Regions from separate parts of the Homo sapiens genome. Here regions 1, 3, 4, 5, 6 and 7 are each linked to region 2. Evidence: promoter capture Hi-C in human tissues and cell types (Jung and others, 2019). All regions are on one chromosome and are shown on one strand. The core of a region is centred on a gene start or on the middle of the fragment in contact, and the rest is flanking DNA. Distances in the headings are between cores, read along the strand shown. Region 1 overlaps MCTP1 (multiple C2 and transmembrane domain containing 1). Region 2 holds the start of NR2F1 (nuclear receptor subfamily 2 group F member 1). Region 3 overlaps SLF1 (SMC5/6 complex localization factor 1). Region 4 has its middle 430 kb from the start of LINC02058. Region 5 overlaps LOC105379080 (a long non-coding RNA gene). Region 6 has its middle 400 kb from the start of LINC02058. Region 7 overlaps LOC105379080 (a long non-coding RNA gene).

Region 1 (4,067 bases), core at 592-3,091, 1.3 Mb after region 2:
AACTCCAAGGAGATTACAAGCATTCTCTACCTTGTAGGGCGTTGTAGAAAATAATGCATTTTACGGTGATAGTATGCTTTATGAAAATAAATATTATCTTAGATCACTTTACAGACTATGAATATGGTCTTTGTTCCTTTATGTATCTTATATCAGATGAAATTCCTCTTTCTCAACTCCCATAACTTTGACATCTGGAGAAAATTCATGGATATCAAATTCAGATAGCCTGTGTCCATCAACTGGTCAAAACCGCCACCTACTGGTCAGTTTTTGAATCTATTTTTCAGTTCATCCAAGCATTGCCTTACCATGGTAAAGTCCCTTTCTTCAAAACAGTAAAGATCATTTACAATAACCAGGCTTACAGCAAATATTCTTTTAATAAAAATGCTCTAGGAGTGAACCAAAAATTACAAATTGCACAAACCTGCCAATGAAATCATCCCTTTTCCCAGCATCTTTGTCCCATGCAGTGATATCAATGACTCCTCCTCTTTCTTCATAAAGGTGAAAATCAAATTGTTCCCTCCACTGAGGATTCAACGTTTTTGGCATAATCTGGAAAAAAAAATCATAATTGTCATATTGCTAGCAGCTTTTTAAAAAAAACTTCAACCTGAGACACTAAATCAAACTTTTGGTACTATAGTATCTAGAAAAGCACGCTGTGTGCTATTTGAAAAAAAGATTACAGAAATAATGGAAATAACTCATTAGATCTCCAGCATCTTTACTGAATAGTACATGAATGGACCTCAATGGATGTGTCCTGAAAATCACAAGACATTCTTTGATTATTTTAAATAACAGATAAGATATATAAATTATATAGAAGAGGTAATAATCTATGAAAGAAATAGCTCACTCGGATACTAGCAATATTTTACATAATCATAGTTAATGCATTAAGATATAACTCATAGCCAGTCAGTCATCTCAAAATAAAGGAGAATGAGGATTTTCAGAGTTTGTTTTTTTCTTACTTGCCATACACATTGGAATCCTGACTTGAGTACATGAAAAACAGACAATGAATTTCTGTGAGAGCAGGAGAAAAACGCAAGTAGCTTTTGGGTAGTCAGGCAAACTTTTATCTTAGACTTATAGCACTGATGTAGTATCTCATGTTATAGATGGATAAGCTGAGACCTAGAGTTTAAGTGACACACCTACGGTCAGTATGTTTTAGTATCTAGACACTAACTCAAAGTCTTTGATTAAAGCTTCGGGACTCTTCCCCCAAAACCATATGCCAAAAATGTCTGTGAAATAATAAATGAATATATGAGTATATATGTATGTATACATGTATATATGTATGAGTATATACATATGTATATGCATGTATACATATATGTATGTGTGCATACATATATGTATATATACATATATGTGTATACATATATGTATGTATGTATATATACACATATGTGGATATACTCTTTGTGTTGCATATACAAGAAAGATATCTGAAATGTAATTCTGTAACTTCAAGTATTCAGATAAGTCATCCTGTATGGTAGAATCAATGAGCAAAGTAACCTATATTGATAGGAATGGAATTTTAAAATTCCATTCACCATTGGGTTAAACAACATTTATATTTGTTTCCTTGTTCTTTCTTTTTAGCAGGAAGGCATGCAGTGGCCTTTTCTCTTTTTAATGTATGGCAGACAGATCTTCAGATGTAAAGTTTGAAAGCAATGAAGTATGTTATATGCAAAGGTAATGCAAATGAATCACAATTTTTAAAGTTCATAATCTGAAATTAATCAGCGATAGATCAAGGAAAGAAAGAGCAAAGAGAGACACATGTCCATTGCTGGGTTTCATATTTCATACCTAAAGAGCAGAACTATAAAAATAAGTAATGTTTTTAGCCTAACTAGAACACGGAAATGGTGCTAACTAAGAAAGGAGAAGATAGAAGTGGTCATAGGTACCTATTTTTGGAATCAGTAGCTACTTTAATATATGTTATATATTATAGCTACTTTAATATAAGCCCCATGGCAGAAAAAAAATGGCACTGAATGAAGGCTATGATAATTTAAATGTCTTATAATCAGGCTCAGATGAACTTCTGTGGTATTTTGGGGTGTGGTCTGTCTTTACTTATCTGGCCTTAAACAGACTAAATTTTCAGTTTTCTTTTCTAGGATTGCCTTCCCTATATTATTTCCTTCAGGTCAGAAATAATGCCTTCCCTTTCTATGTGGACACTCCAATCAGCCTGCTAGCAATACTCACTGCCTGCTAATGATGGGCTCTCTGATATTTTTAACTACCTTAAGTACTAGTGAAAACTTCCTGGGCTGGAAGGGACCTAAGCAGGCTGTTTATCAAAAATCTATAGAGATTATGACACTAAGGTGAATAAATGCCCATCAGAATGGAATGTGATCTTTAATACAAGACGGATATGATCAGTTGTCCTAAGCTGTCTATGAATAACATCTGTAAAAACTGACCAATAAAGAGGACATAGTTCATTACAACAGAGATAAGATGATATGGTTTGGCTCTGTGTATCCACCGAAATCTCATGTCATATTGTACTCCCCACATGTTGGAGGAGGGGCCTAGTGGGAGATGATTGAATCATGGGGGCGGACATCCCCCTTGCTGTTCTTATGATAGTGAATGCATTCTCACAACATCTGGTTGTTTAAAAGTGTGTGGCACTTCCCTTTTCACTCTCTCTCGCTCTGCCATAGAAAGACATGCTTGATTCCACTTTGCCTTCTGCCATGATTGTAAGTTTCCTGAGGCCTCCCAGCCATGCTTCCTGTACAGCTTGCAGAACTGGGAGTCAGTTAAACCTCTTTTCTTCATAAGTTACCCAGTCTGAGGTAGTTCTTTATAGAAGTGTGAGAATGAACTAATACATAAGACATGTGCCAAAAATATAGTTATGACTACTAGACCCTTATTCATTATTACTTATATTACTAATATTATTGTTTAATACATTATTACTACTACTATAATTGATACTATACGATATACTTCTTACTACTGTTGTTACTCTTCCTCTTCTGCTATTTTTGTTTGCTGAGTGATTATGGACAAGGCAGTATTCTAAGCCCTTTAAATGCGTAACATATATTCATTTAATCTTAGTAAATTTGTTAGGTAGGCATTATTTTAACTCTCATTTTTACAGATGGGAAAACTAAGATATGGAGAGACAAAGTAACTTGTTCTAATAAATTTTAAAATTTGCTATTTGCATTGGTACAAGTCAGGTTGGATAAAGTGTATAAGAGTAACATACAAAGATTTTTATGGCATGTAAAATAATGCTATTTATAATACTGATATTAGCACTAGTTGTAATAATGTTAAAAGCTACACTCTTGGGAGGCCAAAGTGGGTGGATCATCAGGTCAGGAGATCGAGACCATCCTGGCTAACATGGTGAAACCACGTCTCTACTAAAAATACAAAAATTAGCTGGGCATGGTGGTATGCACCTGTAGTCCCAGCTACTCGGGAGGCTGAGAGAGGAGAATTGCTTGAACCCGGGAGTCGGAGGTTGCAGTGAGCCAAGATCATGCCACTGCACTCCACACTCCAGCCTGGTGACAGAGTGAGACTCCATCAAAAAAAAAAAAAAAAAAAAAAAAAAAAAAAAAAAAAAGCCGCACTCTGAGTACTTTATGTGCCAGGCATCAACTATGTGTTTTCTGGGTGGCTGTTATTGTTTTAATCCACAGAGCTATGCCAAGGGATAGTTCCAACTATTATTGCTATGTTGTAGATGAAGAAATTGGGACATAGACAAGTAGTTTATGGGAGGTCACCTAGTACATAAATTTAAAAATGCTATACAATTATTGGTCTTGTTTTCTGACATGGTGTTCAAAAGAGTTTGTTAAGCATTTAAAACATTATCTAGTGGTTTCATCTCCTAAAGCAGGGCTATTAACCAACCAATGCCTTCCAAATATTGACAGGAACACAATAGAGACAAGGTTACCTTGCTCTTGTACTTCTGATGCCCAAGCCGGAACTTCACGTAGGGATCGCTCAACCCGTTGGAATCCATGGCCTTGAGGTCT
Region 2 (4,173 bases), core at 1,185-3,684:
ACTGACCAGAAGACGGGAGCGCGTTTGCGCGTTTATTTGGGCATAGGGACGAGGGCAAGGAGCCCCTGCTACCCCCAGTCGCCTCCTCGCCATCAGCTGCGTACAATGGGCCACCGCTCGCGGAGTGCATTGACAGTTCTCCATTATTCGAGCTGGAGGGGCTGTGGGGCAGGCACGGGAAAACCTTTTATTCTGCTCTTTAAAATCATCGCTCGTCACTAAGCGGTCGCCGACTCCCGACTTGTAGGCTGGAGAGACCAGGAAGCGCAAAACGTCCCCCAAACACGCAGTGCTTCCCAAACCCCTCCCTGGTGAGACTTAAAGTGAGAACGAGTATTAAAAAACAAACCCTACCTCTGTCAATACAGCGTGGCCATTTACTTCCACCTTTACCTGAGGGCGTGTTGGCGCTAGGAATGCTCGAGCTGAGACAAACTTTTACGCCCTCGCGAGTCGAGGGGCGGGCGGGCGAGCGCGGCTCCCACCCCCGGCGGCGGCAGCGGCGGCTTTGTCACTCCGCGCGGCTCCGCGCCCGCCTGAGCCTGCCTAGGGGAGCGATCTCAAAACGAGGGGGGTGCGAGTATGCGATTGGAGAATATGTAACTAATAGAAGTATCATTTTCCCCCAGTACGATCTTTCAAGGAAAAAAAAATCCATTGAAAGAATTTTCAAAGTGCTGTCTTCGTTTGGAGAAAAGGCACAGGCTGCCTGCGGGGAGGGGAGGAGGGACTCGGCTGTGTGCCGCCCGGGAGCGGCTCCCGTCCGCTAGGTGGCAGCCGGAGCCAGCGATTCCTGCAAGCCCCGCCGCGGGACCCGCTCCTCCCGCCTGCCCCTCCTCCCGCGACCAATCACCTTCAGGATTCAGGAATCGGGGTCTCGGTCTCTCTCTCTCTCTCTCTCTCTCTCTCTCTCTCTCTCTCTCTCTCTCTCTCTCTCTCTCTCTCTCCCCCTCTCCCTCTCCCTCTCCCTCTCCTCTCTCCCTCTCCCTCTCCCTCTCCCTCTCCCTCTCCCTCTCCCTCTCCCTCTCGTCTCTCTCTCTCTCTCTCTCCTCTCTCTCTCTCTCTCCTCTCTCTCTCTCTCCTCTCTCCTCTCTCTCTCGGTCTCTCTCTCTCTCTCTGGGTCTCTCTCTCTCTCTCTCTCTCTGGGTCTCTCTCTCTCTCCTCTCTCTCTGGGTCTCTCTCTCTCTCCTCTCTCTCTCTCTCCCCTCTCCTCTCTTCTCTCTCTCTCTCTCTCAATATCTCGCGCGCTCTCCTCTCTCCTCTCTTTCCTTTCCTCTCCTCTCTCTCTGTCTCTCTCTCTCCTCCTCCCCCTTTTCTCTCTCCCTCTCCGCCTCCCCCCCTCTCCATCTTCTCGTTTGTTTGCTCTTTTCCCGGGACTGACTTGGCCACACTAATCTCCCCCCACCCTGCAACAATATGGGGACTTACTACTGTTTTATTAATAATGATTGAAGCATTGTTGGAGTTTGGAACAGCCAGGTGATAAAAAAAAAAAAAAAGAAGAAGGAAAAATTGGATTGATTGGAAAGTTTATTTTTAAAATCATCTTTGGGATAAATAGGAACCCTTGATTCCGATCGAATTTGTGGCAATAGCTGCAAATTCCAGGAGTGTGCTTTGTCATCATTAAACCTTTTAAACCAAGGTATACTTTGGATTAAAAAATAGGGAGATCCTACCCTGTTTCTACTTGTTTCTAAAAAGGATATAAAATGAGCAGAATCCAGACTTGGATTGTGCTTATATGTGAGAGAAGAAAACAATCCAAATCCAGTATATTTCACAAATCATTAAAATGGTGGGGGTTTCATTCCCATTAAAAATTTTTCCAAACATTTTCAATGACACTCTCTTCACGCTCATAAAATCTAATTTTAAAAACTTTTCAGAAGAAATCAAAATAATTTCCCTCTAATTCTCCTTTTGCCCATCGCTAGGCGTTCTCCCCCTCGTCATCCCTTCCCCCTCTGGGGTGTGAGCGTAAGTGTGTGTGTGTGTATGTGTGTGTGTGTGTGACCATAGACGACCCATACTAATCAGGTCTCAGAGTAAATAGCAGCGCAGGGCGATCTCAATGTAAATTGCGCTTGTCAGAAACACACCCCCCTCCCTCACTTTCTCTCCTCCTCCCCACACCATCCCAGTCTGTAGGTAGCTAAGCGGGGGGGGGAGAAAGAAAGCAAAAGAGGAGGGGGGAGGGGCTCTCCAACCAATGGCGTGCAGGAGGCTTGGCTAACCTTAGCCTCCCATTTTCTCTCCCCCCGATTCAGGGCTCTGACCAGTCAGTCGCCTTTGATTATCAGTTGCCAGCAGCCCTTCTCTTGGCTCCTTGACACGAGCTCCATATAAGGCAGCGATCTCCATAGAAACGTGTCAGTTTCAATAGTAGTGTCAAAGTTCACTATATACAGACATTCGCGCAGATCCCCCTTTCGGAAACATTGCTCTGCGAGTCCTCCCGTTTAAACGCATTCAATTTTTGGGTCTCTCTCTCTCTCTCTCTCTCTCTTCTTCTCTTCTCTCTCTCTCTCTCTCTCCTCTCTCTCTCTCCTCTTTCTCCCCCCTCTCTCCCTCCTCTCCTCTCTCTCTCCTCTCTTCTCTGAACCTCTCTTCTCTTTCTCTTTTCTTACATATTCTACTAGTTGTTTTCCCCTTCTTCTTCTCCTTTCTCTCCTTTTTCTCCCTCCTCCTTGTCTCTTTTACTCCATTCCTGCAGAAGAGAGAGGGCTAAACTTAAAGAAAAAAAAAAGGAGGAGGAGGAGGAGGAGGCACCCCCTTCGTATTCTTCTTATCGTTATTTTATACATATATGATTTTTTTTGGAGGGAGGGTGTTGGTTGCCGGCTGAAGAGCACTTATTTAAAATACTAAAAAAAGAACATTTTTGGGCGATCTCCAGGGTTTTTTTAACTAGCTCTGTGTGTTATAGCAGAAGAAGCAGAAGAAGGAGCAAGAAAGAGGAAAAGAAGAGGATTATTTATTCGACCTACTTTGGATGTCTCTCTCGCTTTTCCTTTTTCCTTTTTTTGGCAATTATTTTCTTCTGATTTTTATTTTTTCTATTTCGCTGTGATTTCGTCGCCGGCGTGAATTATCCCGTATTTTTCTCCCCCTTCCGTCACCTCCCGAAAGAAGAAGGCAGCGAGAGCCCGGCGCCACCGGCACAACAAAAAGAGCAAAGTGTGTGATCTTCCTCGCCGGCTGCCTCCCGCTCTCCAGCGCTGCCTTCCTGAATGGCTGGCTGCGTCCGGCCCTGGACCTGGCCCCCCGACACCCGCGCGCCCTGATCGCCGGCGGCAGCCTCGCCCAGCGCCCTGCTCGGCTCACCGCGCTCCCCGCACTCCCGAGCCCGGCGAGGGCTCCCGCCGGGACAGCGGCGGCGCCGCGGGCGGCCCCGGCCTCCGCTCGCGCTCCGGCTGCGGCCCCGACTCCTGCTCGGACTCCGGCCCGGGTCCCGGCTCCTCCAGCGGCGCTCGCCGCAGCAGCTCCGGCGGCAGCTCCAGCGGCGCCTGCAGCCGCGACCTCCTCCTCCTCCGCCGCCGCCGCCGCCTCCGCCCTCGCCGGCTTCCTCTATGTCGGCTCAGCCCGCGCGCTGCGCGTAGCCCGAGCGGCCGGCGGGCGGGCGCCCGGCGCGGGTGAGCGACTGTGTGTGCGAGTGTGTGTGTGCGCGGGGGTGCGGGCGAGGCGGAGGGCGAGTGTGTGCGCGCGCCGTGGCCCATGCCCGCCGCCCCCGGCGCTGCGCCCCGCGCCGCTCCCGGCTGCCGCCTGTGCCATTTCTGATTTTGCAACTTGGGGAAGAAGAAAAAAGCGAGAGAAGGGAGCTTGCTCGCCGGGGGGTGGGGAGGGGGGAAGGAGAGCGCGGCCCCCCCAGGAACGGAGCGCGGGGGGAGCGGGCGAGGGGAGCAGGGGTGTTGGGGGGGGAGCCTGAGAGCCTGGGGGGGCTGCAAAAAGAGAGAAAGAAAACAGCAGGAACCACAACAAAACGCCAGCAGGGCGGGCGGGCGCGCAGCAGCAGCGGGGCGGCCGAGGCAGTAGCGGCGGCAGCGGCGGCGGCGGCGGAGGCAGCGGCCGGTGTCCGGCTCGGGCTCGGCTCCTGCGACCCCGGGGCGCCCGGCGGGCCCCCCGCCCCCTCCCCCTCCCCCCTTCCCCTTCCCCTTCCCCTCCCAGCGCGCC
Region 3 (4,129 bases), core at 14-2,513, 1.1 Mb after region 2:
AATATATAATTCATGTAAATTCAAGTATTTATATAGAATAAAATTTAAAAATACACAAATGAAGTCTATTTTGATTAACTTGTAAAACAATAAAACAGGAAGGACTTTGAACTTGGAGCAATAAAAAGTACCTCAAGAAAGCACATATGGTATGGTGGCTGTCAAGTACAACTTTTCAAATAGCAGTAGCAGCCACAAAAAGGACATTATTAGTTCTGCTCTAGAAGAGCTAATGTTCAGTTATGTTCACTTTCATATTGTGTTTTATAAAGCAGTCTATTTGGTTAATTTATCAAATTATTAAGTTGATAATTATTAGTCTAAACTAAAAGTTTTATGTATAACTAAGAAGAAATTCAAAATAAATTGTTTTTACCATATCTGTCAAGTATTTTTGAAAGGTAATTCTAGGAATAATTTGGAACATTTTTTTTTTTTTTTTTTGAGACAGAGTCTTGCTGTTTCGCCCAGGCTGGACTGCAGTGGCACTATCTCGGCTCACTGCAAGCTCTGCCTCCTGGGTTCACGCCATTCTCCTGCCTCAGCCTCCCGAGTAGCTGGGACTACAGGAGCCCGCCATTGCGCCTGGCTAATTTTTTGTATTTTCTTAGTAGAGACGGGGTTTCACCATGTTAACCAGGATGGTCTCCATCTCCTGACCTCGTGATCCGCCCGCCTCGGCCTCCCAAAGTGCTGGGATTACATAGTTCCTTAAGAAATTGTATATGGCAAGATTTGCTAGAACTTTCCAAACTTAAAATATTTTTGCATTTTTTTCTGACTTTTCCAGTGTATATTTATATTTATGTGACTTAGAAGACTACTTTTTGTAATTTACTATATGTGCATGTTTTAATGAGAAGCTTTTTTGAGTTGATGTGCCTCTTGTGAAATATACATTGTAAACCACAGTGTATAGCATTTTTACATATAGAAAGGAATGTAGAATGAAGATGGAGTTATTAAAATAATTTAGTTTTGAATAAACATGGCAAAAGAATAAAATAGAAATTTTGTAAGATAAATGGAAATCATTAAAATACATCTACAGTCATGTACACATAATGATGTTTTGGTCAACAACGGACCCCATATATGATAGTATCTTATAGTCCCATAAGATAATAATACCATATTTTTACTGTATCCTTTCTATGTTTAGATACACTAATACTCAGCATTGTGTTGCAGTTGCCTATAGCATTTAATACTGTAACATGTCATAAAGATTTGTAACTTAGGAGCGATAGACCATACCATATAGACTAGGTGTGTAGTAGACTATACCATCTAGGTTTGTGTAGGTAGACTCTGATGTTCGCACAATGACGAAATCAACTAACGATGTACTTCTCAAAACATATCCCCATCGTTAAGCAGTGCATGACTGTATATATGTCTTCTTGAGTTCTTTTTAGGACTCAAATTATGTATGTAAAATTCAAGTAGAAATATCCTTTTTTAAAAATAGCTATTTTGGTATAATGATTAAACAACATGATTTGTAATACTCATTAATCGGAATTCAGCACATAGGTAAACTAAAGCATATATGTTAACGTACTATAAAGCTTTGTGAACTGAAAACAATTATGTTCTGCTTTATCTTACATAATTCAGAGGGTTCTTTACTCTATTTAACCTTGTATGTATATTTTACAAAATCTATGTTCCTGGATGGGTTTTTCTTTTGTGACTTGTGTTGATTGTGTTAAGGCTATATTTAATCCACAGTCTTAACTAAATTATGTTTACAAACACGCAGAAAGAAATGCAAAATCATGAAGATGTTAATGTTGGTTCTATTTTGATTCAACATCACAAAAAAGAAAAATTCAGTGGTTCCAGTAAAGATTTGAAATTTGTTAAAATGAGAAATACCTTTGGAAGCCATACATATGAAAATCAGGTACAACTTTCCAAATTAAAAATAATTTATTTTTAATATATATAGTGTTTATAGAACAGTTTTCTTTAGCTTTTAAAAAATATATAAAAATGAGTTATGTATCCAATAGCTAGATTAAGAAATAGAGCATTACCAGTTTTTAAGACCTGCTGTATTATTTTCTTTTTTCTTTTTTTTTTTTGAGATGGAGTCTTGCTCTGTTACCAGGCTGGAATGCACTGGCACAATCTTAGCTCACTGCAACCTCTGCCTCCTGGGTTCAAGCAATTCTCCTGCCTCAGCCTCCCAAGTAGCTGGGACTACAGGCACACACCACCACGCCTGGCTAATTTTTGTAATTTTTTCAGTAGAGACTGGGTTTCACCATGTTGGCCAGGATGGTCTTGATCTCTTGACCTTGTAATCTGCCCACCTCCGCCTCCCAAAGTACTTGGATTACAGGCGTGAGCCACTGCGCCCAGCCTGCTATATCATTTTCTAATGCATCCCCTTTCTCCCTCTTACCTAGAAGTAATCTTTGTCTTAGAATTTGTGTTAATTATTTTCTTATTTTTCATTATAGTTTTAACAGCTGTGTGTGTATCTCTAACTGATATGGTTTAGCTTTGTCTATTCATGAACATTTTATAGTTTATGTTATTTATAGACTTCTTTTGCTAATGTATATAAAATTTTATTGTTTGACTATGCCACAATTATATCTTTTATCCATTTTACTGTTGATAAGCCTTTGGGCTTCTTTTTATTGGTTTATGTGTTTGATTGTTAAGTTTTTGCAATTATGAACAATTCTGCTATGAATAATATGAACATTATCTTGTATACCTCTTGGGATACATATTTAGTAATTTCTCTAGCTTAGTTGGTATATTCCTAGGAATGGAGTTGCTGGGTCATAAGGAGTGTGCATGTTCAACTATACTAGGCAGTGTCCGACTTTTTTCAAAATATTTTACTAATGTACACCTACTCTGTCAATGGATGAGATTTTCTGTTGTACGTACTTCTTTATTTTTATTTCTATTTTTTGAGATGGAGTTTCACTCTAGTTGCTCAGGCTGGAGTGCAATGGCGCAATCTCAGCTCGCCACAACCTCCGCCTTCCAGGTTCAAGCGATTCACCTGCCTCAGCCTCCCAAGTAGCTGGGATTACAGGCATGTGCCACCACGCCTGGCTAATTTTGTATTTTTAGTGGAAATGGGATTTCTCCATGTTGGTCAGGCTGGTCTCTAACTCCCGACCTCAGGTGATCCGCCCGCCTTGGCCTCCCAAAGTGCAGAGATTACAGGCATGAGCCACCGCGCCCGGCCGTACTTCTTTATTTTTTAATGTGTATGAAAGTATGAAAGTCACTCTTGAGTTTATTTGGATTTTGTAACATATGTCATTGATGTTGAGATTTAATTGTGGTCTAAATACATGTAGAAGGAAATTAAGAAAAAAGATGAAGATATTCAGAGGAGTTATACTTTGAGGAGAAAACGCAAGAAAGGAAAAGAAAGCAATTGCAAGAAAGGCGTTGAACATGAAAAAATAAAAAGTACCTTAAGAAGGCACATATATAATAGAGATCAGGTAAAGTTTGTAAGCTAAGCTATAGCTTTCTTTTTTATTTTTTGGCTGTTCTCTGATATAATCTAGATATATAATGCTACATGTTTTAAGAAAAAATCTTGAGTCAATCTGGTGTAATATTCATAGTTAATATTCCAGTTAACTTTGGTTCACAGTAAATGTACTTGTACATGCATATACAAAGAAATCTGAGTTAATAATCAAGGTATTCAGTGAATTTTGTTTTGCCTGAATGTGATGAATAAGAAAAAGAAACTGGAAAAGACTATTTCTTAAAATGAAAAAATCTTTAAAACTACATGTGTGTATAGTTGGGTAATACTTTCTAATGTAAATTTTATTTTGCTCTTTTGTATAGTACAGACCATTTTTAATGAGATGTCTTGTTTTTAAAATTGAATGCTTCTTGGGTAAATTTTTTCTGGAGTATGACTTTTTTTTTTTTTAACGATCTAAACCATACCATGGGCTGGATGCGGTGGCTCACACCTGTAATCCCAGCACTCTGGGAGGCCAACGGGGCAGATTGCTTGAGCTCTGCAGTTGGAGACCAGACTGGGCAACATGGTGAAACCCCATGTCTACCAAAAATACAAAAAATTAGCTGGCATGGTAGTAGGTGCCTGTGGTTCCAGCTGCTTGGG
Region 4 (4,148 bases), core at 322-2,821, 1.1 Mb before region 2:
AGTGAGAGAGATAACAGTCCACAGTATTTGAATGAAGATTGTTGCAGATTAGAACACAGGACTTACTCTAACATCAGCTCCCAGTATAGGGCTCTCTTCCTAGGAGGATAAAGGATTCTCAGTTTCATTCTGTCCTCAGCTGCCTATTGTTGCGGCTGAGTGTGGTCACAGGTGGGGACTTCCTCCTAGTGCCCACCCACCATTTATGAAAGGTAGGTTCTAAGCAGGTGCAGTATGCTAAGAATAATGGGGTTCTGACAGCTCTTCTTCCTGTTCATAAGCATGTGTTTCCAAGTTAGGAAATGCAAGCAAAGACGACATCATTACTATTTCCTCCCCTTCCACCAGGTGCTCAGCTCCCAGAGTTGATGTGTCACTCAGAAAAAAGCTTGCCTTTGTCTCCACCCCTAGCTTCAGAGCTTGGGCTCAGAGATTTTGCCTGGGGGAGAAGCATAACAAAAAAACAATAGCTCCTAATCTGTCCCCAAATTAACTGACTTTATTTGCAACAAAGTATGGAGAAGTTTTAACCTAAAGCTACTCTAAAAAATATTGGACATTGTGGTGAAAGGCAATTTGAAGATTCATGGATCTAATAAAGATATAGCCTGGAATGTAAGGTGGTAATTTGCAGAAAATAACCCAAGGATAAGACAGCTGGGAGGAGCACTCCTGGGGCCAGAACAAATATGAAACACTAACCTCAGAAAGTAGTCACTCAAAGGGACCACAATTTGATTGGATTGGTTTGATTGAATTAATGGAGGCATTTAAGCCTCGGGATATTGATGAAAACAATAGAGCAATCAGTAGGTGCTACTAGTGGAGTTTAATAGCTGGATGTGGTCAGAAAAGAGTGGAAGAGCACCCTACCAATACAACTGACATCCCAAGATAACTGTGGGCATGCCCAAAACTATACTTCCCTGAGTCACAGCATCAAAGGTTTACCACAGTTAAGGAGACGGGGTAGACTTCAGTAAAACAATTCATCCAGTCATTAAACATACAAGCAAAGAAACACTGGAACAGGAGGACCAGTACTCAGAGTTGCTATAATATAGTGTCTAAAAGGACCAATTTCAATAAAAAATTATGAAACCTTCAAAGAAATGGAGAAACATGACTCATACGCTGGGATAAACAGCAGGAAACAGAAACTGCCTGGAATAATACACAGATGTCATATTTAACAGTAAAAAACAAAAACTAGTGGAAATAATTAAAGAAGTAAAGGAAGGTATGTTGGAATGTTATACCAAATAAAAAAATCGACAAAAAAGTAGAAATTAATAAAAAGAACTAAATGAAAATACCAAAGTTAAAAAGTATAATAATCGAAATACAAAATTTACTTGGGGGGCTCCTCAGAGAATTGAACAGGCAAAATAAAAACTAGCAAACAAAGATAAATGGATATAGATTATGGAACTTGAAAAAGAAAAAGAAAAAAAAGCATGGAGAAAAATGAATACAGCCTCAGAGAAATGTGAGGCATTATTAATCACACAAACATACATGTACGAAGCGTACATGGAGAGGAGACAGAAGAAAAAGAATATTCAAAAAAATTACTGAAACTACTCGAAGTTATTGAAAAACAATAACCTAGGCATCCAGGAAGCTCAGTGAACTCCAGGTAGTATAAACACAAAGTAACCCATGAACAAATCATATTAAAAAGAATGAAACTCTCTGACAAGGACTACATTTGAAAGCAACAAGGGAAATATGTCCCTTCACTTACAAGAAAACTCCAAAAAGATTAACACACCTGACTTATTGGCAGAAATAACAGAAACCAGAGACATTGGGATGATATATTTAAAATGCTCAAAGAAAGTTTCAACCTGGACTCCTCTATTCAGGAAAGCTTTTGTTCAAAAAGTGAAAGTGAAAGAAAGACCTTTACAGATAAACAAAATCTTAGAGAATGTGTTGCTAGCAGACCAGCCATATATGAAATACTTAAGGAAGTTCTTCAGTATGAAAGCAAGTTACACCAGATGGAATTTTCAGTCCAACTTGAAAAAATAAAGAATATTGTAGAAAAATCATGTAATTATTTAAAAAGTGGCATATTTTCCTCCTTTCTTCTCATACCTGATTTTAAAAGCAGTGGTATAAAATGATATGTATATAATGCAACATAACATTGAGCCTATTGCATATAGAAATATAACATGTGTGCTATATTTGTCAATAACAGCACAAATAAGGTGGAAGGGAGTAAAGTTTTAATGGCCTAAAATTACAAAAGAGGTAAAATAATACTTAAAATAATGTATTGTTAAGTTTGTAACATTAACAGGTGCAATATGTGTAAAAAGGATACTACAAAAAGTGAGGCAGGGAATAGAGCTGTATAGGAGTAACAATTCTGTATCTCACTAGAATCAAACTGAGATAAATCTAAAGCTAATTTGGATAAATTTCAATGTATATGGTAAACCCTAGAGCAAGTGCTAAAAGCATATAAACCATAAAAAAATTTAAAAAAATTAAATGCTACTTAAAGAATGTTTACTTAATGCAAAAGAAAGCTATAAAAGAGAAATAAAAGAACAAAAAGGACCCTGGAGCATATAGAAAACAAAGAGTAATTGGCATAAGTCCAGTTATATCTATAACATTAAATGTGAAAATATTAAACAATGTAATGAAGAGGCAGAGCTTTTCAAGTTGGATAAAAAAAATTCAATTATATACTATCTAAAGGTGACAGACTTTTGATTGAGAATAGACCTAAAATAAAAATATGGAAAATATATATTATGCAAAGAGCAAACACTTACAAAAGGTAAAAATGTAAATATTTATGTTATATATATTTTACCACAATTAAAAATACTAGAAAACTGACTTCAACAACATATTTTAAAAATTACACAACAGGATCAAGTGGGATTTAGGCCAGGATAAAGCAAGGTTGGTTCAAAATCTGAAACTATATTAATGGGATGCATTGTATCACTTGAATAAAATAAAAAATCAGTCAGGTACAGTGGCTTGTGCCTGCAATCCTAGCACTTTTGGAAGCCAAAGCACACAGATTGATTGAAACAAGAAGTTTGAGACCAGCCTGTGCAACATGATGAAACCCCATATCTACAAAACATACAAAAACTTACCTGGGTGTAATGACACGTGCCTGTAGTCCCAACTGCTTGGGAGGCTGAGGTGGGAGGATTGTTTGAGCTGGAGAAGTCGAGATTGCAGTGAGCCATGATGATATTACTGCACTATAGCCTGGGTGAAAAAGTGAGATACTGTCTCAAAAACAAGCAAACAAACAAAGTCACATAATCATCTCAATAAATGAGCAAACTCCATTTGACACAATCCAGCATGTGTTCATGATTAAAACCCTCAAGAAACTTGAAATAAAAGAAAAATTTATAAAACTAATGAAGAGTATCTGTGTTATGCCATTTTTTCATTGCTATAAGGAAATATCTGAGGCCAGATAATTTAAAAAGAAAAGAGTTTTAAAACCAACCTGAAAGCTAGATGAAGAAATAATTAAAATTAGATAACTGAATAAAATTGAGATGCAAAAATCCATACCAAAAAAAATCAATGAAATAGTTTGTTCTTCAGAAATATAAACAACATTGATAGACTGCTAGCTATCTTTAAAAAGAAGATCTAAATGAGTACAATCAGAAATGACAAAGATGACATTACAACTAGTCACACAGAAATACAAACTCCTCAGAGAATGCTATGAACACCTCTATGCACACAAATTAGCAAATCTAAAGGAAATGGATACATTCTGGGAAACACATAATCCCCCAAAATTGAATAACGAAGAAACTGAACCCTGAATAGACCAATATCAAGCTCTGAAATTGAATCAGTAATGAAAAACCTACCAACCACAAAAAGCCCTGGACCAGATGAATTCTACCAGATGTGCAAAGAAGAACTTATATCAATCATATTGAAAGTATTCCAAAAATTTGGGTAGAGGCTGCTCTCTAACTCATTCTATGAAGCCATCATCAGCCTAATAACAGAATCTAGCAGAGACACAATGAATAATGAAAACTTTATGCCAATATCTCCTATGAACATAGTCACAAAAAATCCTCAACAAAATACTAGCAAACCAAATCCAGGAACAAATCAAAAAGCTGATAACA
Region 5 (3,623 bases), core at 228-2,727, 1.1 Mb before region 2:
TGGTTTCTGCCACTTGCAGTAAAAGAATTCAGACTAATACAATAATTCATCTTATTTATCTTCTATGGCAAACAACTTAATAGAGTTATAAAGCAAATTTAGTAGAAGATAATTTCCTTTCCTGGGTCATAAGTTTAATTAATACCTTTTTTATTTTTGTTGGATACCATTTTTGAAATCCTTGAACATAAAGTCCTATGCTATTTTTTAGGCTATTACAGCAATGGGGGAAGAAACTCGACAAGGAGCATGGTGACTTCTGCTAAAGTTGTTTCATTAAATCCCACAGGGAAAATGTGTTAAACATAAAGTATATATGTTTGTCCAAGAATAAATTCTTCTTTTCCTACTTAGAGATAAATATCCAAAAGACTAGGGTCCTAAATCCTATATGTTAGTCATAGAAGACAAATTTTTATGATTTTTTGACACATTTGTACTGCTAGACTTCACTAAAGCATATGAAGCACACATGTTACCCTGACAGCAAAGAAATGAAAATTATGCACTATATATATTTTTCAGTGGCATCTTTGTAGACCTTGCCAGTATCTGAACTGTTAGAACATGGTTGAATGTCAATTTTCTGCAGGAATTTTAAAGCAGGTTTATTATAGTGCTGAACATATCTGGTCATAAATTTTACCATGCAGAAAAAGCAAACTTTCTCCAAACATGAAATTTTATAAACACCCATTAATTGTTCAATATAGCATGGCTTTTGAATGCTAGACATTTTATTAATACTGATGTGACTTTTTAGAGGCTTTTCTCCCTAAGAAAAAAAATATAATAGATCCTTTATTTTTAACATTATGAGTTTCAGTGTAGAGTTTTGATAGTGACCTCTTCTGTCTATCAGACTACTTTAAGAAAACACTGTTAAAATAGCATTATAGTGTTTTAAGTGATTTCGAATCTTTTAAAAAGGAATCCGTTCAACGAAAACTGAGTCAGAATTATAATAAATACCGAAAATACCTTCACAGTTCTGTTATTTCATTCCATCCTGCTATCAACACTGCTCTCAGTTTGTCAAGGATGACATTTAAATCACGGGTAATTAAACAGTTCTCAGTTTTAAAATAAATTGGAGAGCCCATTGTTTTGAGGTTATTTACAAAACTTTTAAGATTTTGTATTGCTATTCAGACCTTCATTTTTAACAAATGAATTGATGCTCATATTTTTTTAAAAAGCATGAATACCCAAAAGGAAAGCTCACTTCACCAACATGGGATTTTGGTGAATATATTTTACTTACCTACCTATATACACATACATTCATTCACACACAATTATAAAAATGAGATATTTCTATGACAGAAAGTTGAAAATAAATGTGACACAAATAGAATTGAATTTTAGTTTTATTCATGCAAGTCCAGTAAGGCACCATTCCTCAAAGTGTTAGCACAAATGTCCTTCTAGCTCATCGTTCATCCAAGCTTAAGATATGACTTTTGTCCTCATAGGCCAAAATGAGCTATCACATCAACTTTCCAGGAAGTAGGATGCAGCACTGACCACTAAAAATAAAATGAGAGCCACATCTCTATGTTTTTGGTTTGATTTCCTTTTCTTTTCTTTTCTCTTTGAGACAGGGTCTTGCTCTTTTGCCCAGACTGGAGTGGGGTGGTGTAATCACAGCTCACTGCAGCCTTGAACTCCTGGGCTCAAGTGATCCTCCTGCCCCAGCCTCCCGAGTAGCTGGGACCACAGGCATGCACCACCACATCCAGCTAATTTTTGTAATTTTAGTAGAGATGGGGTTTTCCCATGTTGCCCAGGCTGGTCTCAGACTCCTAGTCTCAAGTGATCCGCCCACCTCGGCCTCCCAAAGTGCCAGAATTACAGGTATGAACCACTGTGCCTGGCCATTATATAATGTTATACATATATAATGTTAAGTGTTAACTAGCCTACATTAAAAACTAACAACTAAAATTATGTTAATATATAATTTCAACGTGTAATCGTTATAAAAAGTTATACATGATATTTTTTATTTTCTTTTTTTCATACCAAGTCTTTGAAATTTGGTATGTATTTTCTACTTTCAGTATATCTCAATTTAACCCCATATCAACTGTTCAACTGTGCCTCCTGGTTGCCACACAGGACACTTTCTTTCCAGGACTGGGAGAAATACAGGGATGTTATCTCTCATCACCTTTAAGCAATATTGTATAGGAAGTCTTAGCTAGTAAGATAGATAAGTAAAGGAAATAAACATTTTAAAGATTAGGAATAAAGAATGAAACAGTCTTTATTCATAGATGACATCATGTATATGTAGAAAATTCCAAAGAATTGACCCAAAAATCCCTCTTGTAACTAATAAGTGAGTATAGCAAGATCACAGGATACAAGGTTAATATACGTAATTAAATTGCTATTGTATATATCAGCAGTGAGCAATTGGAATGTAAAATAAGTGATTTAGTCTTTATCCTGAAGGAAGGGATGAAAGCTTAGTAATGACATGTCTCAGAGTAAAAAATTCTGTTTCAGTCACCAAACGCGGCGGCTCACACTTATAATCCCAGCACTTTGGGAGGCTGATGTGCCACCCAGGCTGGAGTGCAGTGGCAGGCTCATGGCTCACTGCAGCCTCAATCCCTCAATTGAGCTATGCACCTGCCACTGCATTTCAGCCTGGATGACAAAGGAAGACCCTGTCTCAAAAAAAAAAAAATTATTTTAATATTCTCAGGTACATAGTGGGAAAATTTGAATCTTCATATTGTATTCTTATTTAATACATGTTTTAACTCTAATTTGAAATATTAATTTGGTTCCATTGGTTGTTTTTCTGCTTCAGATACAACAAATCTTATGCTGGATCTTCTTTGCTATCTTCTACATCTATTACCTTCTCACTGATTCTGTTTAGTAGTATTATTATTATTAGTGCTACTATTTTATTTTCTTGTGGTTTCTCATTTATTCTCTGTGTATTTCTCACTGTATTTTCATTTGTATTATTCTTTTGTAGGTAACTAATAATTCTGTCATTTCTGAGCTACATTCTGAGATATTCTTTTAGATCAGTTAGTTACATTTTATATCATTTCACTTTGTTCATTTGCTTTCACTTTTAAAATTTCTGATTCACCTGGTTATGTCACATTTGCAATTTTTTGTTTAATTTTCCTTAATTTCAACCTTAGTTTTCTGTTTTGCTTTTCCTCTGCTTCTTGACCTGCCTTAACTGATGTGTTTCACCTGGCAAAGAGCTTTTTTTAAATTTATTTTCAGAGTATCTTTATGTGGCGTCTGGGTTTTGCTTTGATGGGTTTTACTTTTCTTTGTCAGATTTGTTTGGTGTGGATTTTCCTGTACCAGCAATTGCAGCATATACTTTTGAGGAACTGACACTGAGGAGGTGGTTTTCTTGGTGGTTGATTTAAAGGACTCCTTCCTCTACTATGTCTATAAATGACAGCTTTGTGTGTGTGTATTCGTTTGTTTGTTTTAAATACGTGACACTTTATTTTGTTTAACATCTTCTAATTCTTTGTTTTTGTCTTGTCTCAATAGAACTATCCTCTTCAGTTGTCCTTTTATTTTCTTTCACCCTTCAAGACACTAAGGACCCCTTCATTTTCATAGGTGTCTTT
Region 6 (3,642 bases), core at 431-2,930, 1.0 Mb before region 2:
TTTATTTTCCATGTGAATTTTAATATCCTGACTAGCTAAAAAAACTTGATGTTTATAGTAAGATTGAATAAAGATTATAAATTAACTTTAAGATACAGACACACACACCCACAAATTTCCCACGATGAATCTTTGGAACAATATTTCCTGAGTTCATGCATGCTTAAAAATGATTGTCTGTCTAAAATCTTGTTCATAGAGGGACAGCTTGAATAAAAATAAAATTCTTAGTTGACACTGATTTTTTGTTTCTTTCCTTCCCACTCTCCCCTTCCTCCTCTGCTTTCTCTTCTTCCTCCTCCTTCTCCTCTGCTTCCTCTATACTGATTTATCCTTATTTTGATTTGTGTTTCAATGCTGATTCATTTTTATATTGATTTGTATGCTGCTTTTGAATAGAATGGTGCTGCCAGTCTGATTTTTGGTCCTTGTAAATTATTTGCTTCTTTGTATGGAGGCCCTGAGGATTTTCTACTTCATCTTTAAAATCTAAAAAATGTACTAGAGTGTAGCCCAGAATTGATAACTGTGTGACTGTGTTCTCAGGAAATATCTGGGCCTTTTCAATATGTAATGTCCTATCTTTAATTCCCTGAAAGTTTTCTTGGATTATGGTTTAAATATTAAATTAGTTACTTTTTTTTTCTTCTTTAGGGTCTTCCTTTCATTTTGGTGCCTTCTTTATTCTTCATCTCATTGTCATTCTATCTGTTGTTTCTCCTCTTTTCCTCTAAGCATCTTACTAACTTCTTGTTTGTATTTCTTCATCCTTGGGCCCCATGTAATTTAGCTTTCATTTCCTATATTATTTTTCTGTTTTTTTTTCTCCCGAGTCCATTAATAATATTTTATTTCTTTCAGTTTTGTTGTTGTTGTTTTGGATTTTTTTTTCTCTTCTTAGTATTTGAATTTCTGAATCAAGGTGTTTTATTTTTTTCTGTAACCCAAATCATGCTTGCTGGATTAGAAACTTTAATTATTTACAACATTGGTTCTTACCTGTAGAGAATGTCACACCAACTTCATCAAGTACCCAGCTGCCTTAGCATTGAGCAGCAGAAGCAGTAACTCCTAGGTTATGAATATTCTCTGACAACATTAATTAGACCCATGAGGATGGAAGCCCTATGTGCACAACTTTCAGAACAAAGCTAAAGCTAAAGAAAATCTCCATTCATGTCTAAGAGAATCTCCATTCATGAACTAAGTTGTATCCTCCCCACATTCATGTTTCATCCCTAATCCCCAATGTGTCTATATTTGGATATAGGGCTTTTAGGAGGTAATTAAGGTTAAATGCAATCATAGGAGTGGGATCCTAGTTCAATAGGCTCAGCGGTCTTATAAGAAGAGGAATTAAATGCAGTCATAAGGATGGGATCTTAATTCAATAGGCTTAGTGGTCTTATAAGAAGAGAAAGAGTGCTCTGTGTGTGTGTGCGCGTGTGTGTGTGTCTGTGTGTATATTCATTTAAGCATACAGCAAGCCAAGAAGAGGGCCTTCACCAGGAACCAAACTGGATGGTACCTTGATCTTGGACTTTTCAGCCTCCAGATCTATGAGAAACAAATTTCTGGTGTTTAAGCCACCCAGCCTACAGTATTTTGTTATGGCAGTCAAAGCTGACTAATGCAATGGCCTCATTGAATCAAATTAACCATTCTGGAATATCCTGATCCAGGTGTATAGTAGATATCTCCTTTACATATAGTTCTGTCTCTCTCCTAGAGAATAATCCCCTAGATTATGAACATTGTTTCATTTGGATCACTCAGCATATGCCTTTTATTAATTATAAGAAATTCATATTGATAGTAACAAATCAAATGCAATTCAAAAGAGAATGAATACAAACTTGATTCTTCTTTACTATCCCTTTCCTCCATGCCACCCTCTTGAGACACTGAAAGAAACTGAACTTTTCTATTATTGAAAGGAACTGAATCTGTAAATCAATTTCTTCACTTTCCCTTTTCTTATTTTAACTGTTTGGATTATTTCTCTCTTACTGAACATTTGTTCACATTCAAAATTATTGGCTAGAGTTCTATGCACAACAATTGTATAAAATATTCTCCTCAGTTCAGCATACCACTAGGATGAATTTCACTTAAATCATTTAAAACATTTTAAAACCATTTTTTCAATGGACTTTAATATTAAAAATTTCCTGGGCTGAGAAATGTTCACTTATTCTAGCCCTGTTTTAACTCTTTGCATCTGTTCTGCACTGTCATAAATAACCAATAATTTTTCAATTTAATGACATCGGTTTTGATCCAGTTCTCAAAACTGTATTTGTACATGGTTTTATAAAATGTCTGCTAGCAAAAGTTTCCTTTACTTTAAACAAAAGAAGTCAAAAATAAAATAAATGTTGATCATCATATATTTTAGCATACAAATTAAACTTCAGAAAAAATGGTAAACAAATATAATTTTATTTGGAACTGGTTTTGTTAAATTCTTGATTGATACAAATTTTAATTTTGAAATGTCATTTGAAACCATATGCTTTTGTATCTTAGAAATGAAATATACTTTCAAAAGTCCTTTGTCTAGCCCTCTGCCTTAAAACTGATAAAAATGTTACCATCAAAGCAACTTAAATAAAGTGAATTGATTTGCTCTAACTAACAAGTATTTAAAAAGCCAGGTTTTCTAACTTCACATACCACATGTTGTAGCAATGCCTCATAATTGTAACTGTCATTGGATACCAACAAATTCTATTCACATTCAGTCCTAAAATCCAATATTTACAGAAAACCAGCCCTTTACTAACGTCACCTTATGCTTCGAACTAAACAATCCTGTTAAAACGGTTATTGTGACAGTAGACTATTTATTATTTATTAATAAAAATAAATTTATATTCTTTCTGAAAAGACTATATTTATAAAATTTATTAGAATTTATAAAATTATATACACTATACATGTATGTGGATATAACACTCACACATGCTGAGCTTCAATGAATGTATGTGATGTGTTGGAAAATCAATACAATCAATTGATTGTATCAATTTAAACTGGTAAATGTATTGCCTTATCTAAGTGTTCTTGTCCTAAAGATCACATAAATTAACACTATTTATCCTTAGTGGACTTGGTGTCTAAGGGCTACAATTAGTGACTCACATAGTCTTTATATCTAGGTCATTAGTTCAAATCCAGTTTAGAATGTTACTTCTTGAATTGAGTGATTTTGAAAGTTATCCAATGTTCTGTTACAAATCACAAATATGGTGCTTTAATTTCATTTTAAGCTACATTTTCACAAAAATAGTACATTATTTTTCTTCTAATTATCTTTACCAGTTTCTGCATTTCTCAAATAAATAGCTAAACAGAAAATAAAAACGTAACCAATACACTTATTCTACAGTAATAAAGATTTGCAATTTTTTCCTTTAAAAAAGATTCTCTGACAGGCAGGGCTAAGTGGCTCATGCCTGTAATCCCAGCAGTTTGGGAGGCCAAGGCGGGCAGATCACCTGAAGTCAGGAGTTTGAGACCAGCCTGGCCAACATGGTGAAACCCCGTCTCTACTAAAAATACAAAAATTAGTTGGGCATGGTGGTGCAGGCCTGTAATCTCAGCTACTCAGGAACCTGAGGCAGAAGAATCGCTTGAATA
Region 7 (3,661 bases), core at 249-2,748, 1.1 Mb before region 2:
AGAAATTAACTAACTTTCACAAGATTACTTTACTAAATGAAACTAGTGTTTTGAAACAAATCCCAGATTTTTCACCTTGCGTTGTATGACCTTCTGAGGTAGCACTGATCGCATTTGCAATTGGCATTCTCTAGGCCCTATGCTGAAGGATTTTGATATTACAGTGCAAATGACACCTAAATCACTTTAGAAACAAAACAATCTCAATAACTAGGCATTCCTTAGGCCAAATGTGTAGGCCAAGCAGTGAAACTAGTGTAGTAAAGCTTTAATTTGATCAGAAAAGCATAAGGTCCTTAAAATGGCACCAATGACTTGTATTTGAGCTTTTATATTTATATAAAAATGGGAAGTAAGGCCTTGGACATTCTCAGGCAGGTGAGCAGAGGAAACTGACTTCTATTTAAACTGTACCCTCAATCAAATGAAGAAAATATATGTTTTTCCTTAATAATGCTTTAAGATGAAAGAATATTTTATCTAATAATGTCATATCGACACCAATATTATTTTGGCCAGTATTGGGACACTATGAGTTTTTTTATTCCTTTACCTTCAAATTTTCTGTCAATATATTTTAGTTACCCTCTCATATACAGCATATGACTGTTGTAGGCAGAATAATGGCTCCAAATATTTCTATATTCTAATCTCCAAAACCTATGAATGTACTACCATACCTGGCAAAACAATATACGGTTGAGATTATGGATCTTGAGATAGGATGATTAATATGTATTATCAGGTTAGGTCCAAGTTAAACACACAATTTCTTAAAAGCAGAGAAACTTTCCTGGCTGTGGCCAGAGAGTGGTATAGAGTGGTAGAAGAAGGATCAGAGAGATGCAACATGAGAAGGACTTAACTCACCATTTTTGACTTTTGAGATGAATGAATGGGCCATAAGCCAAGGAATATTGAAAGCCTCTATAAGCCAGAAAAGGCAAGAAAATAACTTCACCTCTGGAGCCTCCAAAAGAAACAAGGCTGTATGATGAGCCATGCGACTCGTGTTAGCCTTATGACCTGTAGGATTATAAGCTAATAAATTTGTATTGTCTTAAGACACTATGTTTGTGGTAATTCATTATAGCAGTAATGGGAAACCAACATGATTGCTGTTTATTGTGTATTTTATATCTCATCTGAGAAGTTCAATTTTTAAAAATTGGAATATTAAATGTATTCACACATATTGTAGAAACTGATTTGCTCAAATTTATTTTTAGAAAACAGATTCTGATCTTCATCTACCAGTTAAATTATTTGCTTATTTGTTTTTGTAATTTTGTTTTCTTTCCCTGACTTCAGCTAAGTAAGTCTTTATTAGTAATTAAATTAAATTAAATGTACATGGATTAAACTGTCCAGTCAAAAAGCAGAGATTGACAGCATGAAGTTTTTAAATATGATTGAACTATATGATGTCCACAAGCAACTCACTTTCAATCCAAGACACAAACAGGTTGAAACCAAAAGGATGGAAAAAAATGTTGGATGCAAATGGTAGCCATAAGAGAGTTTGAGTGACTATATTAAAATCAGACAAGATATATTTTAACGTAAAACCTGTTACAGGAAACAAAGAAGGACATTATAATTGGCCCTCAAACAACACTGGAGATGGAGGAATTAATCCTTATACAGTTGTAAATTTAAATATAACTTTTGACTCCCCAGTAATTAAACTACTACAGCCTACTGTTGGTAACACTTACTTTATATGTTAACTTATTCTATGTTGCTTTCTTACAATACAGTATGCTAGAGAAAAGAATGTTATAAGAAACTCATAAGAAGGAGAAAATATATTTGCTCTTCATTAAGTTGAAGTGGATCATCATAAATGTCTTCATCCTCACTGTCTTCACATTGGGTAGGCTGAAGAGAAGAAAGAGGAGGGGTTGATCTTGCTGTCTCAGTTGTGACAGAGGCAAAAAAAAATGTGTAAGTGTATCTGTGCAGTTCAAACCTCTGTTGCGTAAGGGTAAAATACATATACTGATAAAAAAGTCAATTCATCAAAAAGATACAAAAGCTGCAAACATATGTACCAAACAAGACCTCAAAATAAATGAAACAAAAATTAATAGAATCGAAGACTGAAACAGACAGTCTACACTAATATTTGGAGACTTGAATACATCACTCTTAATAATGGAAAACTGTAGACAGGAAATCAATAAGAAAATAGAGTACTTGAACAACATGATAAACCAACAAGACATAGCAGACACATATACAGTACTCCAACTAGCAATAGTAGGGCATGATTTTTCCTCAAGTGTACATGTAACACTCTCCAGAAATGACAATACATTAGACCACAAAATGAATCTTAATAAATTTAAAAACACTAAACTCATGGAAAGTATTTTCTTTGATCACAAAATAGCAGTGAAATCAAAAGATATTTTTTTGAAAAGGTACAAAATACTGACAAACATCTAACTAGACCAACAAAACCAGATAGAAGATGATAATAACTAAAATCAGAAATGAAAGTGGTGACATTACTACTGATCTTAGAGAAACAAAAGGAGTTATAATAGAATACTATGAACAACTATATGCCAAAAAGTTAGGTAACCAAGATAAAATACACAGATTCCTAGGAATACACAAATTACCTAAACTAACTCAAGAAAAAGCAGGAAATCTTAACAGATCTAGAACGAGCAAAGTGATTGAATCAGTAATCAAAAAACTCTCAACAAAGAAAAGCCCAGGACCAGATAACTTCTCTGGTACGTTATATCTAGCATTTAAAGAAGAATTAATAGCAATTCTTCTCAAACTCTTCCAGTAAATGGAAGAGGAGAAAACACTTCCTAACTCATTCTGTGAGGCCAGCATTACCCTGATACTAAAACCACATAAAGACAACAGAAGAAAAAAATTTACCAAAAAAAAATCCTTATTAATATAGACACAAAAATTCTCAATAAAATACTAGCAATTCAATTTCAAAAGCATGCTAAAAGAATTATAAACCAGGACTAAGTGAGATTTATTCAAGAATGGAAGACTAGATCAACATATGACAATCAATTAATTTAATACAGCACATTAATAGGACAAGAAAACATATGATCATTTTAATTGATGCAAAAAAGTCATGTAAGAAATTCAACACCATGTTGTGATAAACAAAAAACACTCCATAAACTAGGAATAGAAGACACCATCTCAACATTATACAGGGCATTTATGAAAAATCCACAGATAACATGACACTTAATGCTGAAAGAATAAGGGCTTTCCCTTTTAGGTCAAGAACAAGACAAGGATGCCTATTTTCTCCACTGCTATTCAGTATTGCTCTAGAGATTCTAGTCAGAATGATTTAGTCAAGAAAAATACATAGTCACACACTGAAAAGGAAGAAGTTAAGCTATTTCTGTTCACATATGATATTATCCTATAGAAAGGAGGAATGAAAAAAAATCAAGAAATACCCTAAAACTAATAAATAAATTTAGCAAAGTTACAGGTTTCAAGACCAAGACACAAAAATCAGTTGTGTGTCTATATGTTACCAAAAAGCAGTCCAAAAGGAAAATTAAGAAAGAAATCTCATTTAGAATAATATCTAAAAGATTAAAATACACAGAAATAAATTTATCCAAAGAGATGAAAGACATGTACACAGAAAACTTCA

What was found. The method cuts DNA at HindIII sites, captures the fragments that hold promoters and counts their contacts. A contact is called where the count stands out against the background at its distance.
Region 1: a fragment that was not itself captured here is called in contact with the fragment with the promoter of NR2F1 in region 2 in 1 of the 25 tissues and cell types used here (H1 embryonic stem cells).
Region 3: a contact is called between a fragment that was not itself captured here and the fragment with the promoter of NR2F1 in region 2, in 1 of the 25 tissues and cell types used here (spleen).
Region 4: a fragment that was not itself captured here is called in contact with the fragment with the promoter of NR2F1 in region 2 in 1 of the 25 tissues and cell types used here (lymphoblastoid cells).
Region 5: a contact is called between a fragment that was not itself captured here and the fragment with the promoter of NR2F1 in region 2, in 1 of the 25 tissues and cell types used here (dorsolateral prefrontal cortex).
Region 6: a fragment that was not itself captured here is called in contact with the fragment with the promoter of NR2F1 in region 2 in 1 of the 25 tissues and cell types used here (IMR-90 fibroblasts).
Region 7: a contact is called between a fragment that was not itself captured here and the fragment with the promoter of NR2F1 in region 2, in 1 of the 25 tissues and cell types used here (bladder).

Annotation. Positions count from the first base shown.
Region 1 is chr5:94,908,821-94,912,887 of GRCh38, forward strand. MCTP1 (multiple C2 and transmembrane domain containing 1) reads right to left here. Exons shown (of 23, transcript NM_024717.7): 9 at 3,986-4,067; 10 at 431-561. Among named protein-coding and RNA genes, the nearest start is that of MCTP1-AS1, 68 kb to the right of the region's middle. The HindIII fragment of the contact is 6,734 bases long and covers 1-4,067 here.
Region 2 is chr5:93,580,788-93,584,960 of GRCh38, forward strand. It overlaps NR2F1 (nuclear receptor subfamily 2 group F member 1), which reads left to right and starts at 2,435. Exons shown (of 3, transcript NM_005654.6): 1 at 2,435-4,173. It overlaps NR2F1-AS1 (NR2F1 regulatory antisense RNA 1), which reads right to left and starts at 432. Exons shown (of 8, transcript NR_186187.1): 1 at 355-432. RefSeq lists an enhancer at 608-707 and silencers at 828-877, 3,485-3,564. The HindIII fragment of the contact is 15,492 bases long and covers 1-4,173 here.
Region 3 is chr5:94,649,937-94,654,065 of GRCh38, forward strand. SLF1 (SMC5/6 complex localization factor 1) reads left to right here. Exons shown (of 21, transcript NM_032290.4): 7 at 1,766-1,909; 8 at 3,336-3,485. Among named protein-coding and RNA genes, the nearest start is that of SLF1, 33 kb to the left of the region's middle. The HindIII fragment of the contact is 5,285 bases long and covers 1-3,906 here.
Region 4 is chr5:92,504,217-92,508,364 of GRCh38, forward strand. No RefSeq gene overlaps it. Among named protein-coding and RNA genes, the nearest start is that of LINC02058, 430 kb to the right of the region's middle. The HindIII fragment of the contact is 5,640 bases long and covers 1-4,148 here.
Region 5 is chr5:92,451,832-92,455,454 of GRCh38, forward strand. The region is part of intron 3 of LOC105379080 (a long non-coding RNA gene); the gene reads left to right. Among named protein-coding and RNA genes, the nearest start is that of LINC02058, 490 kb to the right of the region's middle. The HindIII fragment of the contact is 3,748 bases long and covers 1-3,351 here.
Region 6 is chr5:92,537,479-92,541,120 of GRCh38, forward strand. No RefSeq gene overlaps it. Among named protein-coding and RNA genes, the nearest start is that of LINC02058, 400 kb to the right of the region's middle. The HindIII fragment of the contact is 8,533 bases long and covers 1-3,642 here.
Region 7 is chr5:92,477,619-92,481,279 of GRCh38, forward strand. The region is part of intron 3 of LOC105379080 (a long non-coding RNA gene); the gene reads left to right. Among named protein-coding and RNA genes, the nearest start is that of LINC02058, 460 kb to the right of the region's middle. The HindIII fragment of the contact is 9,659 bases long and covers 1-3,661 here.